Regions from separate parts of the Homo sapiens genome. Here all the other regions are linked to region 1. Evidence: promoter capture Hi-C in 16 types of primary human blood cells and fetal thymus (Javierre and others, 2016). All regions are on one chromosome and are shown on one strand. Each heading gives the region's core, a stretch centred on a gene start or on the middle of the fragment in contact. The rest is flanking DNA. Distances are from core to core; before and after follow the strand shown.

Region 1 (3,313 bases), core at 499-2,998:
CTCATGACCTGGAAAAGTCTTGCAAAATCATTTTCATACTCTGCATCTCCAGCTGAAAAACAATGATAAAATTAGTTACCATGGAAGTTAAAGGAATCATGCTTTGCATTAACACCAACAGTCTTCTGGAACACATTTGGTAACATTAGATTTCCCATCAAAGATATTTGTTTATTTTAATAGTTCAAGCATGAAAAAGAGATATCCCTTTTGGAAGCTGCAAATTGTTGACTCACTGATTCTCATTTAGGAAAAGGGATTTCACATTACTTTATCTATTTTCTCAATAGTCAAAGCCCATGTTAAGAGAGCTTTTAAACATATTTAAAATATATGGCTTACCTACATGTTTTACATGATAATTTATGGTTATAGAAGTTAGAAAGTGCAATTTCTTTTAATATCCCCGTGGGGAAGTTATATAATTCTATAGTTTTTTAAAATATATGGAAAAGCAATATACTTTCCGTTAACTGCTAAGATTCATGAATTTTCTCCACAAGTTCTCCAGAGGAACTACTAGAAAAAACTCCACGAATCTCATTATTTGACAGTTTTGTTGAAGTGAAATTATTAAAATTGATATTAGATTTAATGACTTGTTTCCAGTAACCAAAATGGAAAGTATTCTACCAGCTGTCGATGGTTCCACACCCTGACACATCGTTAAAACCTTAGCTTCTGCCTAAACTTTAAACCTTAATAATATTTGGCGGTAGGGGAGGGGTTACATTTCAAGTCAAACAAAGGATGTATTTCCAAAGCAGCATTTACAAAGGTTAATCTGTGTATGGACTACAAAGGGGAAAGTGCAGTGCCCCAGTGATCGATCTAAGACCCCCCTCTCGTTGTTGTTGTTGTTGGGTTTTTTTGGTCTGGTTAATAAACCACCTAGAGGGATAATTTTTAAACTTAATTTGTTGAAATGGTACTTTACTAATGTATGAAAAAAATTTCCCCAAATTTGAGAATTTTTGGTAAGTTGATTTTATATTTGGGAATAAAGATCTCTTGCTTCTTCTACTGACACCTTCTACACAAAAGATAAAAGGTACTTTTACTTGGTAATCCGCAGGGAGAAAATTTACAGAAACCCAGAGCCAAAGGTGCTCTCAGGGGATCCCCTGAAACATTCAAAGCCATTGCGGCCCCAGAAGGTAAATGGCTTTCGCAGGAACACAGGTCTCCTGACTCACGGCCTAACCTTCCTTTCCCCCACACCAAAGCTCGCGCGGCACCAGCTAGAGTGAAGGTCAAAGTCAACAGAATAATCTCTGCAGTCCAGGGTCTGTGAGGGTCCTCCTATCCGAGGGAGTTTTCATGAAAGGGCATTTCCGAACATTTTATTCCAAGGACACAGTCTAGTCAAAAGACGTTTGGGATAGGGTAAACATGAGGCAAAAGAACACTTACAAAAGAAAAAAGCGCAGTTTCTTGGAGGCTTGTCAGAAGCTAAGACTGGGGAGATGAGAACCAGGGCCCTTGGCGAGAGTTGGGGTGGGAATCGCGTAAGAAAAGCAATTTCTAGAGCGGAAAGGTGACCCCACATTACAAAAAGAAATGGAGTAGAAAAATAGGCTTGACTATTCTAAAGCTGCTTCAGAAAGAATCTCCGGAAGACCACGGAGGAACCCCGCAGGGGAGCCAGGCGGATACTCAGCCGCTCGCGGTAGAAGGGCGCGCAAAGCTGCGGAGCCGCGTGTGTGGAGCTCCCCAGTGCACTCACTGCTGGCTCCCCCTCGGTGCTCTGGGCCCTTCCCAGCTCCCTCCACACAGCCCGGCTCCCTTCACACACCCCCGCCCCCTCCGAGCTCCCCGACTCCTCCCCGCGCTCCACGGCTCTTCCCGACTCCAGTCAGCGTTCCTCGGGCCCTCGGCGCCACGAGCTGTCCGGGCACGCAGCCCCTAGCGGCGCGTCGCTGCCAAGCCGGCCTCCGCGCGCCTCCCTCCTTCCTTCTCCCCTGGCTGTTCGCGATCCAGCTTGGGTAGGCGGGGAAGCAGCTGGAGTGCGACCGCCGCGGCAGCCACCCTGCAACCGCCAGTCGGAGGTGCAGTCCGTAGGCCCTGGCCCCCGGGTGGGCCCTTGGGGAGTCGGCGCCGCTCCCGGGGAGCTGCAAGGCTCGCCCCTGCCCGGCGTGGAGGGCGCGGGGGGCGCGGAGGTGAGCGGGTCGGGGAGGAGCGCGAAAGAAGGTAGCGGCGGCGGAGTTGAGGGTCAAGATGCAGTCTGCGCCACGCGCTGCATCCATCCTCCCCGATTCTGCGCCCTCACCGGGCGTCCGCCCTGAGCTGCGGGGTCCCTCATCTCCTGGCACCTTAAGGTGGAAAGTGAGAAGGGTGGAGAAGGGTGTCTGTTCCACTGATTCCCCCTCCTCCTCCTCTTGGTTCCTAGAGCTAAGGGCAAGTCCTGAGGTTGGGCCCAGGAGAAAGAAGGCAAGGAGACATTGTCCCAGGTAGGATGTGTCCCAGCAGGAAAGGACAGGCAGGTTACTTTCGCCCCCTTGATAGTCTCCCTGCTACTTTGGGTTGATGCAGGGCATTTCATGGAAGATCATGCAGTGCTGCTTTGCGAACAGGTATTTCTAGCAGTCATTTGGTTTATTTCCCAGTAATGTAATCGTGGTGTTTAGGCCATTTCTGTTAGAAAGTAATTGGCCTCTTCTTTGACTGTCCTAAATTATCTTTGAACCCTGTGTTCAGCCTCAGCCAAAACTTGTTGAAAATTATGCCCTAAAAATCTTGCTCTTAAAATAGAGCAGAGAGATAAAGAGCATTTTTGTTGGAAGATTTCCATTTATTATCTCTCCCACCCCGTGGAGAAGGATTGGTGTCAGTTTTTACTCCTCGGGCAGTTAGTTTTTTAGATGGAAAGACAGTCCAGGCCATAGTTAATTATCGCTCATCAGTATAGGAGAAAAAGAATTCAGACTCCTGCCCCACCCCCACCCCCACCCCCAACCTCCTGACTTAGATTCTGGTCCTTTTAACAGCCCCGCTGCTTGGAACCCTTTTTGTTTTCTAAACCACCTCCCCATCCTTCCTTTTCTCCACTTTATTATTTCTTCATTTTATTGATCTGTTTATTTTTTCTTTCTTTAACCCTATAATTTTTTTACTCCGATTCTCTCTTGGTTGCTTCAAAGCTTAGAGGCTATTTAATGGAAAAGCAAAACAAAACAAAACAAAACACCCGTCCTAAATAATTTGCAGGATGTTTAGAAACATAAAGAGTAACTATGTGTGCTGCCATTGGGATGGCTGCACTCTCTGCCTCTTAGCTAGTCACTCTGTCAGGGTATGGGGAAATGAGACAATA
Region 2 (3,313 bases), core at 423-2,922, 2.0 Mb before region 1:
TCAAAGAGAAACTACACTGTTCACAAGATTAACTTTCTGATACTAAGAAGGGAACAGTAACTTCCTTATTTAGAAGCTGGTGGGTTTTTACCATATTTCCTAAGGGGGTGAATGATTAGCAATCAAGTTCAACCCAAAGAAAGTGCCCATTAGAATCGAGCTATGTAATTACTAATATATGTCTTTAAGTTGTACAAACAAGCGTTTATATTTACCAGATCTTGAATTTTTTCGCTTGAAACCATCCTGGACCCTTTAATTCAACCACAAGTTTGCTTTCGAACTGAACTCACATAAATACGAGTAACACTTTGTCCTCATTTATTCTGAACATTCAGAAATAAAAAACTAAAATAAGAAACAACTTTTTTTTTCTTTTGCAGAAGCAAAGGGACTCAGTACCACAGGAAGTTCGCTTTTCTGTGTCACTATATCAAAAGCTACCACAAATGCAGACAATAACGGCTCTTTAATATTAAAGGGAAAAGCTAACCTGTCCAGCTACAGCAGCAAAGTAACCATACAGCGGATCCTGAGTTTGTCCGGGAAACGCAGGCCCTCCGGGAGCCCCTCCATACTGTGAAACAGGAAACACATACACGTCATTCTGCCGAATCAAGTTTTCTTCTTTCACCACTGAGGGCTTTTGTGCAAGGCCAGACAACTGCCCGCCTGCCCGCCCTTCACAAGGCTCACCTCCCCACCACCGGGCACACTCTGCCAACACTCCACCCCTCTCTTCCATTCACACCCCGTAATTTAAAAACTGGCGACTTAGACCATAAAGAGTTGCTGTGAAAGTGATGTCTACATATGTAAAGCAACTTTTAAAATCCCTATTAACCTGAAGGTTACTGAGGTGAGTGCAAACTAGGTAAGCCAACGAATGGCAGGGCTTCAAATTCTCCTTTTGTTGTTACAGCATTTATGGTATTTTAAGAGCGTTTTATGAACGATGGAAGGCTGGAGTTGGTAACATTCTGAGACGGGTGTAGCCTAGGGAAGAGTAAGGTGTCCGGCCGGGCTGTATCTCGTGGGTGGCGAGGGAACATTGCCTGTCTCGGAAACAGTTCCCAAGACAACGCGCATCCCAGACGCCCGGCGAGGCTGCCTTCCTACAGGTCTTTTACTTCAGCAGGTTTTCCCTTTTTTTCCGTCCCCCTTCTCACTCGTTTTTTGTTTGTTTGTTTGTTTGTTTGTTTGTTTGTTTTTTAAAGGGAGGAAGGTATATCATTCTAGAATAAAATGACTGTTGTTGCTCTGGGAGGCAACCAAGAAGGCGGGGGTGGGGTGGGGTGGGGGTCAGCCAACACCCAATTAACACGATTTCACGCCGCGTATCCGAGAAGCCGCAGGGTGGGCTTCTAGGGTCCCAATCCACCCTCACCTTGGCCCCGCAGGGCCATCCAGGAGAAGGGACGGGGAAACGTGGGGAGAGGCCGAACCCCAGGGGCCTAGGGCGAGGCCGCGAGCGCAGGGAGAAGCCGAGGGCGGAAGGAGCCCGGGTAGCCGCCCAGCAGCGCCTCACCCCGCTGGCCGCAGCATCTCCAAGGTGGCCTCTTAGCGCCCCGGAGCCGCCTGGGCCGCGATCCCGCGCAGTCAGCACTTACCCCGCCTGGGTAGTACCCGCCGCCGGCGCCAGGATGCCCCGGGTACGCCATGCTGCAGACTGCGCCGCAGCCGCCCTCGCCCTGTGCGCCAGGCCTCTCCGCCCCCTGCCCCGCCCCGCCCTGCCGCTAGGGGGCCGCCCCAGAGCGCACCACGCGGGCGTGGGGGACGCGCTCCGCAGTCGTCTCCAGCTCTTGCCTGTGCGCGCGGCCGTGGCTCCCCTGCCTGCGCGCTTCTTCGTATCTTTGCCATTACGGCGCTAATGCAGTGCACGACTGAAGGTCCAGTGGCGGCCTACGACCTGCGAGGCAATTCACACCAGGGACTTTCCTCCCTCCAAAACTAATGGCACATTCCAACACCAATACACCACCCCAGGAATTCTTTTTTTTTTTTTTTCCTTCGGACTTGGCTATTATCTGGCACATTTCTTATTTTAAACAACTTTATTGGACAGGACGGAGCTATTATAAGCGGAGCGCACCATCGCGAGGCAGGGGCTGGATGCGTTAGGGCAAGCCTTAGGTGCCAGTGGGTGAAGGAGTCTTTGAAAGATGGAAATACGAAAGCGCCCTTGGAAAATAAGAATTAACTTGACGAACTGTGTGCAAGGGAGAGTTTGGCTTGCTGTTGGTTGCAGAGTTCACTGAACGACAACGGCGTATTTCCTTCCTAGGGGACAATTCCTTGCCTGTTTAAGCTGAGCGTGACTTGTGTCCTGAGTAGGACAGAGGGCATTTTCCGGGCAGGACAGACTCACACATATCGTTCTTAGGAAAATGAATTGTTTGAATTATCTGGATGATTCAGACAAAACAATCCATTTCCCTAAAAGTATTCAGCTACTTTTTATATAAGAAAAGTTTAGAACAAACTAATAGTGTACTGGTAAGTATTCAGGAAGATAAGAGATAGGAACTTCTATGTAGGTTATTCTTCTTTACTTCATATATTTTTCTATCTTCCAGTTGAATAGTCCGAAGCAATTCAGGCGTGAGCTTTTTGTTTTGTTTTGTGTAATTTCAATGACAGAAAATTGCTTGCCCTTCACTGTTAAGGACTAGACTTAATGATTTCCTGAATTTTAACGTATTGAGAAACGCATTAATAAGCAAGATTCACAGTATTTGTTGTGGAGGTTGCACAGAAACATTTAAAGGGTCATCAACATTTCACAAATATTGGAGCACCCGCCAATGTGGTACTGTGCTTTTTCGCTGTGGTGGACGGGCTTCCTCCATTCTAAATTCGTGGGCTATTGTCCTCATTCGGTTCATTGTTTTTCTCTTGTGTGTAACTTCCCTCGCAAGCCCTTTTGAAAACCAAAGTCCGAATTGTGAGAAAAATTCTAATAGTCCCTGTTGTGGCATAGCAAAGACACTGCATGTTGCCTGTTTTGTGTTTGATTCAGGAAGCAGGTTACTGTTTTCAATCATCAAGGTAGCAATCATCAAGGTAGATGAGACATCTAATGAGTCCCCTGGTCTCTCTTTGGAAGCCTGTTTCTTCAGAAAGAGGTAACCGACTATAAAGAGTAGATGTCAGGGCCGAACTCGATGTTGAGTACAAGCTCAAGACTCAAGTTTGAAAGAAGTATAAAGCATATAAAATATTTTTAAGTACTGCAGAATTAGCTTCGTGGATAAACGGCTATACGAATTGGCATATCAGTTGTCCTTAGACATCTTCCCACTGCTTTACTGCT
Region 3 (3,313 bases), core at 466-2,965, 1.5 Mb before region 1:
CTTACCAACAATTTATTTAAAATAAACAATTCCTGAGATTTACATTGCACTATCCCAGTTTCAGTAATTTTTATTCTGAAGGTTTGCAAGGAATTGGCATTTTTCCCTTATATACTCAGAAGCTTTGCAAACACTTTAAAAGACTATATAAAACCTTTAAAATGAGAAGTACATCTATGTATTTTTTAAATAAAATATTAAGGATATTAAGCCATTGTAATGATGTAAACAAAAAGTCAAGCTTTTATTGGGTAGTTACAAAAGTTATAATTAGATTCTTTTTTGTTCCTTTTTTGCTTAAGAATTTTATGAGTTGCCTGAATAGGAAAAATTAAATTAACAGTTTTTTTTTCCTTTTAACCTGTTTCTGCTTTTGTGTCAATGTCAACCGGGATGCGAATGGGGCATTGTGGGAGACAGGAGAGGACAATACTGGGGAGAATTAGCGCATTGGCGGTAGCCTTTCAATTCCAGCGCTGAAGCAACAGACTGAGAGGAGGTGAACCTTTACCTTCTCCCAGGCACAGACAAGGCGAGGTGAGGCAGAGATGGATTGCAGAACCGCATTAAGCAACCGCGGGGTGGAGGAGAGTGCAGGGTGTCTCCAAACCCTGGGAGGGCTATCTTCTCCTTTCAGAGCACATTTCTGCCCAGGTCTTTTTATTCTCAGTGCAGCTCGCTCCCTGGTGGCTTAAATTACGGTAAACGAAATAAGGTCCGTTAAAAACCACTTCTGAGAGGGGTGATTATTGGGGGTTTTGAAAGCACAGAGGTCTTATAGAGACCAAAAATATGTGCCTCGCTAAGATACAGAAAGGCTTGTAAGTGAATCTTCATAACTCTGGGTACGTGCATGTATATGCACATATACGTATGCATGTCTCGTTTCTATACCTTATATAAGTTTTCTGCCCAAAACTTTCCTCGTCCGTGCGTTCCCTACCACGGCGCATCTAATCTGTCTGCCCTATTTGTGGCTGCACAGCTCATTCTTGCAACCGGCTGGGGAGCTGTTGCTTCTGCCAACGCCGCCGTCAGCCAGAGCGCTGAAGAAAAGCTGAAGGCCAGCAGGCAACGAAAGAGTAAAGAAAACGCCCTCCTCCTGCCCATCTCCTCCACCACAGCCTCCCCAGTCCTCCCAGGTGACTCCCAAACAGTAGAAAGTTGGCTCAGAGATAGGGCAGAAGAACCGGGGGGCTGGGCGGCTGAGGCCGGGAGGTGGGAGAGGCGGGTCCTGCAGCCCCGAGAGCCCCCCGCGGCTGCAGCGGCAGCTGTCACCTCCTGGCCTCGCCCCACAGCACACCTGAGCCTCCTGGGCAGCCCCGAGCCCACAGCTCCCAGCAGAGGCGCTAACTGCCCTCCTCAAGCACAGGTCGCCGCGTCCCCAACTCCCTGTCCTCACCCCGGCCCGCCCGTCTCCTCCTCCGCCCTCTCCCGACTGCAGCGGGGGCAGCGCTTTGGCGCTCCCAAGGACTCCCCGCCACTCTCCCCACAAAGCAGCGGCGGTGGCGGCGGCTGCTGCTGGATCTTCACACTGCAGCCAGCAGCCCAGGACGCCCCCGGCCGGACGATGGGTACCCGCGCCTGAGCATCCCCCGGGCAGGCGCCAGGCGCGAAGGCAGGGGGCGGGAGGAAAGGGGCGGGGGAATTCCTGATTCCCTGGTGGACCCTGGAAGTTGTCCTTAAATAAATATATCGCTGGCCCGCGGTTGAGCAGCCACCTCGTCAGAGCAGCATGTGGACTGGCTCGCCGGGTCCCCTCCGTGCTCTGTGCTGTCGCCGCCGCCGCCTCTGTCAGAGCAGCAGCTGTCGGCAGCAGGAGCCCCGCACGGGGCGCGGAGCAGGGACGCGCTGCCACCGCCTCCCCCTGCGTCCTGCTGGCCGCGTCTTCTCGGGAGGTGGTAGTCGCTGTTGCCGCTGAGAAACCCGCCCGCTTTCCACGGCTGGTCGCCTGGTGAGGAGTTGAGACTCTGCGCCTCCGCCCGGACCCACATGGCTTGTTACCTGGTCATCAGTTCGAGACATCTCAGCAATGGGCACTACCGGGGCATTAAAGGAGTCTTCAGGGGACCCCTGTGCAAGAACGGATCTCCCTCTCCGGTAATGTGCGCGCGCACACACATACATACACAAACGTTCCAACTCAACACAAACAAAAAGATATTGAGAGATAGTATCCTGATACAATGAGTAGGTGGTGGACATCTAAAACGTATACCTTATCCATAGGTATGGAGATACATCGTGTCCGTTTATACAATTTATTGACAGACTGTGACACAGAGAGGGGTGTGTATTTACATGTGTATTTTCAATTCAGTCAGTAGGATCTATAGTGCTACGGATGTAAATACTTACTGAATGCAGTCAACTGCAGGGCTCAGAAGGTAGCTCCTCTGTGCTATGTCAACTTACGAATCTGCTGATTTGAGCAGTGTAGAAAGTTTGAGTGGCACGTTATAATGTGCTTTTGTAAAGTCATCAGTTGAGATTAGTTTAATAATGCTACTGTTACTTTGTGAGAAAAACTCAAAGATTTTCCCTCAAATCATTGGCAAAAGGAAAGTTATAGGTAGTGAAAACTTGATTATATCTAATGCTCAACTATGCACATTCTTTAAGGGGAAGTAAGAGAATTCTTTATGGAAATCTGAGTTGGATAATTTATTGTATAATATACAAATATATTAACATGCAATTAACGTGATTGCTTTTTAACTTAGTAAACTATTCAATTTAGTTACTATTCAGTTTATTCACATTCTTTTTATAAAATAATTTCATCCAGATTATATGAGTTAAATACATTATTAATTCATTTCTTGGTACATGCTATTATGTTTTAAGGCTCCAAATATGTTTCAAGAAAATGTGTGTGAATGTGTATGTGTGTGTAATTTATATATATATATAATAAATATATATATAATAAATATATATATAATAAATATATATATATATTAGTTTTGGACTACTAGTGACTAAGTATCCAAACTTAAAGACCAACTTTTGAGGTTTCATATAAAAAACAGTATTTAAGTCTGTATGATATCAAGAGGGAAAACTGAAATTGCCCAACTTTAATTTTTTTATGTTTGATATTTTCCATCATGGTTTAATGCTTCTTTAGCATGAATTATTCAAAACTGCAACATATTATAAAAGCCTTTGATTATTAATAAATGCTATATGTAATTTACATGAGAAATCTAAGATCAGAAAGTACAGGTGCCCAGAGATATCACTAGGATTCCTCATGACAAACTATTCCTTCACATGCTTTTATGTACTATAAAAAGTGGGTTGTTGCAAC

What was found. The method cuts DNA at HindIII sites, captures the fragments that hold promoters and counts their contacts. A CHiCAGO score of 5 or more calls a contact.
Region 2: the fragment with the promoter of SRI here is called in contact with the fragment with the promoter of STEAP2-AS1 in region 1 in 1 of 17 cell types (M0 macrophages); the score reaches 5.6 in M0 macrophages.
Region 3: a contact is called between the fragment with the promoter of ZNF804B here and the fragment with the promoter of STEAP2-AS1 in region 1, in 9 of 17 cell types (neutrophils, total B cells, erythroblasts and 6 more). The highest score is 9.0, in neutrophils.

What each region holds. Positions count from the first base shown.
Region 1 is chr7:90,209,887-90,213,199 of GRCh38, forward strand. STEAP2-AS1 (STEAP2 antisense RNA 1) reads right to left here and starts at 1,749. Exons shown (of 3, transcript NR_110029.2): 1 at 1,414-1,749; 2 at 1-52. It overlaps STEAP2 (STEAP2 metalloreductase), which reads left to right and starts at 1,854. Exons shown (of 6, transcript NM_001244944.2): 1 at 1,854-2,159. RefSeq lists a silencer at 1,957-2,016. The HindIII fragment of the contact is 5,296 bases long and covers 1-3,138 here.
Region 2 is chr7:88,218,366-88,221,678 of GRCh38, forward strand. SRI (sorcin) reads right to left here and starts at 1,673. Exons shown (of 8, transcript NM_003130.4): 1 at 1,611-1,673; 2 at 494-577. The coding sequence starts at 1,661. It overlaps SRI-AS1 (SRI antisense RNA 1), which reads left to right. Exons shown (of 3, transcript NR_120517.1): 2 at 384-859. RefSeq lists silencers at 659-748, 1,396-1,895. The HindIII fragment of the contact is 22,346 bases long and covers 1-3,313 here.
Region 3 is chr7:88,757,985-88,761,297 of GRCh38, forward strand. ZNF804B (zinc finger protein 804B) reads left to right here and starts at 1,716. Exons shown (of 4, transcript NM_181646.5): 1 at 1,716-2,100. The coding sequence starts at 1,993. RefSeq lists an enhancer at 1,862-2,406. The HindIII fragment of the contact is 11,667 bases long and covers 240-3,313 here.